Linked DNA regions of Homo sapiens: region 2 is linked to region 1. The links are contacts of gene promoters, found by promoter capture Hi-C in blood cells and fetal thymus (Javierre and others, 2016). All regions are on one chromosome and are shown on one strand. The core of a region is centred on a gene start or on the middle of the fragment in contact, and the rest is flanking DNA. Distances in the headings are between cores, read along the strand shown.

What was found. The method cuts DNA at HindIII sites, captures the fragments that hold promoters and counts their contacts. A CHiCAGO score of 5 or more calls a contact.
Region 2: a fragment that was not itself captured here is called in contact with the fragment with the promoter of ZNF674 in region 1 in 1 of 17 cell types (M2 macrophages); the score reaches 5.4 in M2 macrophages.

What each region holds. Positions count from the first base shown.
Region 1 is chrX:46,543,013-46,547,419 of GRCh38, reverse strand. ZNF674 (zinc finger protein 674) reads left to right here and starts at 1,999. Exons shown (of 6, transcript NM_001190417.2): 1 at 1,999-2,049; 2 at 2,809-2,919. It overlaps ZNF674-AS1 (ZNF674 antisense RNA 1), which reads right to left and starts at 1,930. Exons shown (of 2, transcript NR_015378.3): 1 at 1,793-1,930; 2 at 1-954. RefSeq lists enhancers at 1,661-1,810, 1,426-2,625. The HindIII fragment of the contact is 22,375 bases long and covers 1-4,407 here.
Region 2 is chrX:46,785,234-46,789,640 of GRCh38, reverse strand. No RefSeq gene overlaps it. Among named protein-coding and RNA genes, the nearest start is that of SLC9A7, 28 kb to the right of the region's middle. The HindIII fragment of the contact is 5,433 bases long and covers 1-4,407 here.

The sequences.
Region 1 (4,407 bases), core at 750-3,249:
GAAAAGTCATCTGGCGAAAACAACTGTTAACATCAGATGACAGTGACTTTGACAAAGCATTATACTACTAGGGTAAAAATGACTGAAGAGATTGGCGCAAAATGAGGAAAGGGGCTTCGTTTCTGAGAATACCAGCTCCACTCAACACTGGATACTCTCCTGCCTATGGAAATCCACAGGGGCAGTTGCAGAGAGTGCTGCATGTTTCATAGTGTTGGGATAGGACAATGAAAACTAACATTTACCAGGTGCCTGCCACGGGCTATTCCTGGGCTTGAGGCTCTAAAGATGTCCCTTTGAACAATAACAACAGCCATCTAGGTTAGGTGGTCCTTAGCTATGGCAGAAAAGAGGGGACTGAGGCCCAAGAAGCTAGTAAGTGGTGGATTCCAGTCTTTTCTTCCAATGGATTAGTAGACACCAATGGCCCAGGAAGGGTGTTTCTTGATTTTTGAATACTAACATCATGAATAGCAAATGCTGGCATGGCAATAAGGGCATGCCCTGCATCTGGTCACATTCAAATCATCAGTCCCTTCTCTTTCTGCATAAACACTTGATCTTACAGAATCAGGATATGGAGAGATGCTGGCCAGGGCCACAGATCAGGTGCTTCTGCAGTTTGCAATTTCTTTACTCTCCTCAGGACATATTAACCCTATCATACTATTAACCCTTTTCTGCCTACTGATAGTGATATCTGAAAAGGTTATCAAATCACCTCTCCTCTAGAAATAAATAGGTTGGTATCTCTAAACCTGGCCATCAGTAACACATACACATGAAATTCTGAATGAGCAGTAATTCACTGCTCACATGTCCAAGGGAAAACAGGCTCTTTTCCTGGGACTTGTACAGGAGGCTTGGAGAGAGTCACTTCCCAGGGTCTGGCTGTATTGAGTTTGCAGATTTAGGTTGTAACTCATCCAAACTATCTGGGGAATGCAAGTTAACCTGAGAGGAGAAAGAGAAAGAGGAAAAACACTCATGTTCAAATGGAAATTAAATACGTGTCTGATAGATTACACAAATGTCTTGGACACATCTATGAACAGTGTCTGGCACCAGCTGGCTCTAGCACAGAAGGGTTTGCTGTGTACCTGAGGGAGACTCTGTCATACTTGACCCAAAGAGGCCCGCTTGGTGACCAGGCAGGCATAGTAAGCATGGAGAACAACACTTGTTCTCTTTCTCCCAGACCCAGACAGGAAACAGAAAACTTTCCTCAAGTTTACTACAGGCCTTTTTAGCGGGCCATGTTGCCACTGGCTGGCATTCTCAGAGAAAACACCTCTCCGCTAAAAAGTAAAATCCAGATTCTCCCAGGGTGTCTAAGATCCTAGGAACCGGAGCCCCACCACTGGGTAGAGAACAATCAGAATGAGGCTTTCTTCCCTCACTTCGGGAGGTTGCTGGCTCTGAAGCCCGGCTCCAAAGCCCCTCTTCCAGGCCACTTCCCCGACTGAGCCAGACCTGTTGCTCTTAGGACGCTCTGAGCCAGGCCTAGGGCCCCGCTCCATGTGGCCTGCCTGGACCCTAGAGGGCCGCGCTCTGGAGCTGCCACAGATGCCAGAGGCGCGACTCTTTTTCCTATTCCTAGGAGCGGAAGACAGAAACAGTGGCCTTGGGGACAGAGGGGTGGGAACACCCCACGTCCACTGCAAGAGAACGAAGTGGAAGAAGGGATTTCGGCTTCGGAGCCGGCAGGGGCCTGGGCACTGGAAAGCCCGCGCGGAGTTCTCTCGCCTCTCGCCGCCCAGGTACGCCTCCCCGGACCTTTTGTACGACTTACCGTTGGAAATGGTCACACATTCCTTCTCCCCTTAGAGCGAACACTGTCATAACCACTGAAGCGCGGGCCGAGGAGCGCCACATCGGCCACAGGCTTTGTTGCCCCGCCTTCAAAGCCACTGCGCGTGCGCATTGCTTTGACTTCACGTTCCCAGGGGGCTGTGGGAAGCGGAAATGCTCGGCTGACCCGGAGGGTGGCGCTTCGTTCACACTGGCTGTTGTCATCCGCCCCTGAGGTTTCAGGCTGTCGGCAGTGAAGTAAGCGGGAGGGTGAGGTGGTGATGGTTTTGATCGGGGGAAGGGGGGACGGGAGGAATGACGGGAGTTTACGGGGCCGTGGGGTCATGGGGCCACGGGTGAGCGTCCTTGTGGGGATTGAGTGACACAGGCGGTGGGCGTGAGTGTTGGGGGCGAGGTTCGGGGCCAGCGAGTGACTAATTGATTGAGTCACTCAGCGCTTGTATCCTCACCCGGTGGTAACTGCCAGACACTCTTGCAAATGTTTCACATTAGCAGGAGCCCTGTGAGGTGTTACGATGATTATTTTCATGTTATAGAGAGAAAACGGTACAGTGTGGCTTGGCAACCTGTCCAAAGTCCCGTAGGTAGCAAACCCGAGGAATCCTTTTTCTTTTTCTTTTCCTGTACTTTGTTTATCATGTTTATTGTTTCCAGTGTGTCTCTTCCTCCAGACTAGAAATCTGGAGCTGGGAATTTGAGATTTTGTTCACTGATGGATTTGCAACACGGAGAACCGGCTCATGGAAGGCAATCATTTCTTCAGTGAATAAAAGTGGCACAGCAGCCAGTCAGTTGATTCCAAAGCCCGGACTCAGGAAGGCAGGGTTTCGCTCACTGAGGATAATTGAGCTGTGCATGAATGTTAACTCTTAAAACTAGAATGAGGGGTTGTCCCTCTTCTGTTGGGTAAAAACCTTTGGGTTTCACTCAACTTCACTGCATGGAAGGGAGCATAGGTGTTGCTAATTGAATCTCCTGTGGTCATTGTGTTTCCAGGGTCAGAGTGCAGACCTGAGACCACTGCTCACCGATTTCAGACTCCAGTTTATCTGTGCCTCGGCTTCCCCACTTAGTCGCAGAAGACTTAGGCTGAGGCCCCAGGAAGAGGTGAGTTCCCTGGGTCACAGGCAGAGATCTAGTGCTATAGTGATGGCCCCAACTGGGGTGTGTTTGTCTCTGAATCCCTTGGTCCTGCCGCCTTGGACACAAGAGAGGTACGCTGAGCTGAGGCGAGTTGGAGGAGAAGCCTCAGCAAGAGCCCAGACCCAGATCCTCAGAGCAAAGGAGGCTCACGGGACAGCAGGTCCTAGAAGAGCTGGACCCGTAGTGGCCTTTGTCCCTCACTTCAGCTGAGACAGAGCAAAGCTGGCTCTACTTCCAGGTGCCATGGAGGACCATGTGACAGTGCAGTTTGATTCCTGCTGGAGGAGGGACAGGTGAAAGTCACAGGTGGATGGAGGCATGGATGTCCCCCATGGGGGCAGGTGCCCTGCTGTAGTACCTGCAAAGGCGGGATGAGGCTGGGAAGGATCACAGCCAGCCACAGAGGATTGGCCTCTCCTAGCACACCTATTTGTGCACCCCCATGCTTCCTTCTCTTGCCATTGGCTATTTCTGAATTTGAGTCAGCCCCACACCATCAACCAGGCACCTGCTTCCAGGGGAAATGCTGAGTGTCCGTTCATCCTGACCAAAGTGCAGAAAATATATTTTTAGTTTATAGAATTTCAGAGTAGTCTCTAGGTATGCTGTCATCCAGCTCTGCTGCCTTATTTCAATGCTTAATGAAAGTGGGCCAGGGGACATGACCTGCTAAGCTACACGGAGCTGAACCCTGTTGTCCTGATGGTATCACAGTGATTGCTGCAGTATGAAATGGTTACTCTGCACAGAATCTCCTTGCTGGAACTTTCTTTTGAAAATCTGCCAAAGAAGGAGGAGCATGGCAATCAAAATGCAAATCATGGGAAAGGAGGAAGTGGTGGGGTGGGAGCAGGGTAGGTGGCCAGTTAGAGAGGTGGATGCAGGGAAGCAGGCACAGTGGTTTTCAGCCCCTCACAGAACTGACAGTGCTTGGCTGTTACCCACCCAGCCCCACACCTCTCCTTCCCTGCGGCCCTTTGAGCCCTGGTTGGGCTCCTTCCTCCAAACCACATGAAGAGATCTTACTCATACACACTTGGAGAGTGTCTTTTCACCTCTAGGGCTCTGTTTGATAAGAAGTGATTTTTTAATAAATTTTAATTTTTGTTTCATTAGTAATTAATATTCCTTGTCAAAAATGCAAATAAACAAGAAAATTAAAATCACCGAACAATGTAACCAATGTCAGCATTTGAATAAATGCTGTTTGAGGTCAGGCGCGGTGGCTCATGCCTGTAATCCCAGCACTTTGGGAGGCTGAGGCGGATGGATCACCTGAGGTCAGGAGTTTGAGGCCAGCCTGACCAACATGATGAAACCCCGTCTCTACTAAAAATACAAAAATAATTAGCTGGGCATGTTGGTGCATGCCTATAATTCCAGCTACTTGGGATGCTGAGGCAGGAGAATCGCTTGAACCCGGGAGGTGGAGGTTGCAGTGAGCTGAGATCA
Region 2 (4,407 bases), core at 620-3,119, 240 kb before region 1:
TTTGGGAGGCTGAGGTGGGCAGATCACCTGAGGTCAGGAGTTCAAGACCAGCCTGCCCAACATGGCGAAACCCTGTCTCTACTAAAAATACAAAAAATTAGCTGGGCATGGTGGTGGGCACCTGTAATCCCAGCTACTCGGGAGACTGAGGCAGGAGAATTGCTTGAACCCTGGAGGTAGAGGTTGAAGTGAGTTGAGATCACACCACTGTACTCCAGCCTGGGTGACAAGAGCGAAACTCCATCAAAAAGAAAGAAGAAAAGAAAAAGAAAAAAGAAAAAAAGAAGAAGTTAGCATGGTCAGATACACAGCTAGAAATCAGTAAATATTTTCCAGTGACAGAGGAAGGTTTTTGACTCCAGATCCCCAAAACGACCTCACTAGTGGAAACACAGCTGTAAATAACAAGTCTGAGTGAGGTAAGGTCACATCCAGCTTTTGAAAGCTCAGCAATTTGGCGACAGAGAACAGTTCAGACCCTTAGGCATGAGCACAGCCCTTATTTCCCACCCACGGCTCAACTAAACCAGCCTAGCCTGGGCCAGATGCTTTTCAGAGCTTAGAGCTGTGAGATTGGAATGCAAATCAGTGGCCCATTCATCTATCTGTGTCTTAGACCAGCCCTAGAGCTAATCCTGAAAGGATGTGCTGGGAGAGTAATGATGATATCAAAGTGATGTGCAAGAATGAAGACTGAGGTCACAAAATGCATTGCGGCCAGGGAGGGTGCCAAAGATTAGAGCCTCGCACCATGATTTTAGTAGACTGGTTGCATTAATGTTCCCAATTATTCACTCCTCCTCCTGTATCTGTACCTTTGACACGTAACTTTGAAACTCCTTTGATCGAAGAGACAGAGTATATTTCTGTGCCCCTTGATTCTGAGGCTAGCCATGTAACTTTCTTTGGACAATGGGATGTTAGCAGATGTGATGCATGCAGAGGTGTTTTTTGTTTGTTTGTTTTTTGGTTTTTTTTGAGTCAGAGACTTGCTGTGTCACTCAGGCTGGAGTGCTGTGGTGCGATCTCGGTTCACTACAACCTTCGCCTCCTGGGTTCAAGCGGTTCTCCTGCCTCAGCCTCCCCAGTAGCTGGGATTACAGGTGCGTGCCACCATGCCCAGCTAATTTTTGTATTTTTAGTAGGGTTTTGCCATGTTGGCCAGGCTGGTCTCGAACTCCTGACCTCAGGTGATCAGCCCGCCTCAGCCTCCCAAAGTGCAGGGATTACAGGCGTGAGCCACCATGCCCCGCCATGCAGAGGTTTTAAAAAGCACTTACAGGTATACACTTCTGCTCTTCCTCTTCCGCCCTCACCATGAGAACATGCTCAGGCTAGCCTGCCAGAGGATGAAATATATGTGGTGAATATATGAAAAATATATGGAACAGTCAAGTGACCCCAGTAGCAGCCAACGCCATCTGAGATAAGTTGACAGCTAGCCAACCCCGAGACAATAGAGTGATCCTAGTGAAGACCAGAGATATTCCCCGATTTGAGTTCAGTCTAAATTGTTGAGCCACATATTTGTGAGCTAAATACATGCTTATGGTTATAAGCCACTGAATTTTGGTGTAATTTGATATGCAGCAATATTGCAGAAATAGATAACAGTCAAGACTGTGTACATTCTGAGGATGTGCACAGAGATGAAGAATAGGTAAGCAAAAGCAGTGTCAGAGTGTCAGAGTAGTATTCATGGGTTATGCAGGGTAAAGCGTGCTTCCCTAGAGTGAAGCAAATGGTTCTGCCCTCTGCCCACACTCCATCTCCATTGCTATCCTTTCCACCCCTGTTTTTCAATAGTTATCCAGCATACATATTCTATATGTGTTTTCTTAGATTTATACCTAAGTATTTCATTTTTGGAGATAATATAAATGATATCGTTTTAACTTCTATTTGTAATTATTTGTTACTAATGTATAAAAAATAGAATTGATCTCTGTATGTTGGCCTTGTATTCAGTGACCTTGTTAAACTCACTTATTAGTTTCATGTCATTTTGTGGATTCTTTGGGATTTTCTATGTAGATAAACATCATGTTGTCTTCATACAGGGAAAAGTCTCTTCTTTTCTTTCTAACCTGTGTCCTTTTTTTGTGCCTAGTATAGTGGCTAGGACTTCCAGTACTGTCCCTCTTTGTAGACAACATGCCGAATAGTATATAATGATCACATGGCATTTATTCTTGGAATGCAAGACTGGTTCAATACTCAAAATTAATCAGCAAGGCCGGGTGTGGTGGCTGATGCATGTAATCCCAGCACTTTGGGAGGCCGAGGCGGGTGGATCACCTGAGGTCAGGAGTTCAAGACCAGCTTGGCAAATATGATGAAACCCCATCTACAAAAATACAAAAACTAGCCAGGTATGATGGCGGGTGCCTGTAATCTCAGCTACTCAGGAGGCAGAGGCTGGAGAATCGCTTGAACCCAGGGGGCGGAGGTTGCAGTGAGCCAAGATCGCACCATTGCACTCCAGCCTGGGTGACGGAGTGAGACTCTGTCTCAAAAACAAAACAAAACAAACAAAAAATTCAATCAACGGATTCCACTATATTAAAAAAGAATAAAAACCACATGACCACATCAATTGATGGAGAAAAAGCATTTGACAAATTCAACATCAATTTATTAAAAAAAAAAAAAACTCTCGGTAGGCCAGGCACAGTGGCTCACGCCTGTAATCCCAGCAATTTGGGAGGCCGAGGAGGGCGAATCATGAGGTCAGGAATTCGAGACCAGCTTGGCCAACATGGTGAAACCCCGTCTCTACTAAAAATACAAAAATTTAGCCAGGCGTGGTGGCATGTACCTGTAATCCCAGCTACTCGGGAGGCTGGGGCAGGAGAATCGCTTGAACCTGGGAGGTGGAGGTTGCAGTGAACTGTGATCATGCCACTGCACTCCAACCTGGGTGACAGAGTGAAAGTCCATCTCGCAGGGCAGCGGGGGGTGGGGCAAGGGGAAACAAACAAACAAACTCTCAGCAAACTAGGAAGATAAGGGAATTTGCACAATCTGAAAAAGGCATGCACAAACAAACAAGCAAAAACCCTATAGATAACATCATACTTAATGGTGAAAGTCTGAATGCTTAGGTTCACAGCAAAAATTTTAAATATATATATATGATAGAGATGAGGTCTCACTATGTAGCCCAGGCTGGTCTCAAACTCTTGAGGTCAAGCGATCCTCCCACCTCGGCCTCCCAAAGTGCTGGGATCACAGGCATGAGCCACCAAGCCTGGCCTCACAGCAAAATTAAGTGGAAATACAGAGTTCCCAGATGCTCCCTGATCCCACCCCACTCTAACAGCTCCCACCCCACTCTAACAGCTCCCACTATCAGCCTTCCCCACCAGAGTGGTACATTTGTTCCAACTGATGAACCTCCATTGACACATCATTATCACCCAAAGTCCACAGTGTACATTAGAGTTCACCCTTGGTGTACATTGAATGGGTTTGGAAAAATGTATAACAACATGTATCCACCATTGTAGTATCTTACAGCGTAGTTTCACTGCCCTAAAAATCCTCTGTGCTCCATCTATTCATCCCTCCCTCTCTCCTAACCCATAGTTTTCCAGAATGTCATATAGTTGGAATCATATAGTACGTAGCCTTTTCCTTTTTATTTTTTAAGACGAAGTTTCGCTCTTGTTGCCCAGGCTAGAGTGCAATGGTGTGATCTCAGCTCACCGCAACCTCCACCTGCCCGGTGCAAGGGATTCTCCTGCCTCAGCCTCCCGAGTAGTTGAGATTACAGGCATGCGCCACCATGCCCAGCTAATTTTGTATTTTTAGTAGAGACAGGGTTTCTCCATGTTGGTCAGGCTGGTCTCGAGCTCCCGGCCTCAGGTGATTCACTCGCCTCGGCCTCCCAAAGTGCTGGGATTACAGGTGTGAGCCACCGCCCCGGGCCATATGTAGCCTTTTCAGATTGGCTTCTTTCACTTAGTAATATACATTTAAGATTTCTTGTTTTTTGGTGGCTTGATAGTTCCTTTCTCTTTATTGCTGAATAATATTCTGTTCCCTGGATATACCATAGTTTATTTATCCATTTACCTACTGAAGGACATCTTGGTTGTTTCCAAGTTTTGGCAATTATGAATAAAGCTGCTATAAACATCTATGAGCAGGTTTTTGTGTGGCTACAGATGTTTACTTTCTAACCATTTGGCAAAATGTGCCTATAATTTGTATTTGTGTGTACTTCACAAGGAAATGTCTTTGTATCATATTTTTGTTGTTTTATTAAAACATTTAAACAACTTTTTAAATTGATAGATAAAATGATATGTGTTTGTCATGTACACCATGATGTTTCAAAGTATATACGCATTGTGGAATGACCAAATCTAGCTAATTAAAACATGTATCACCTCACATAGTTAT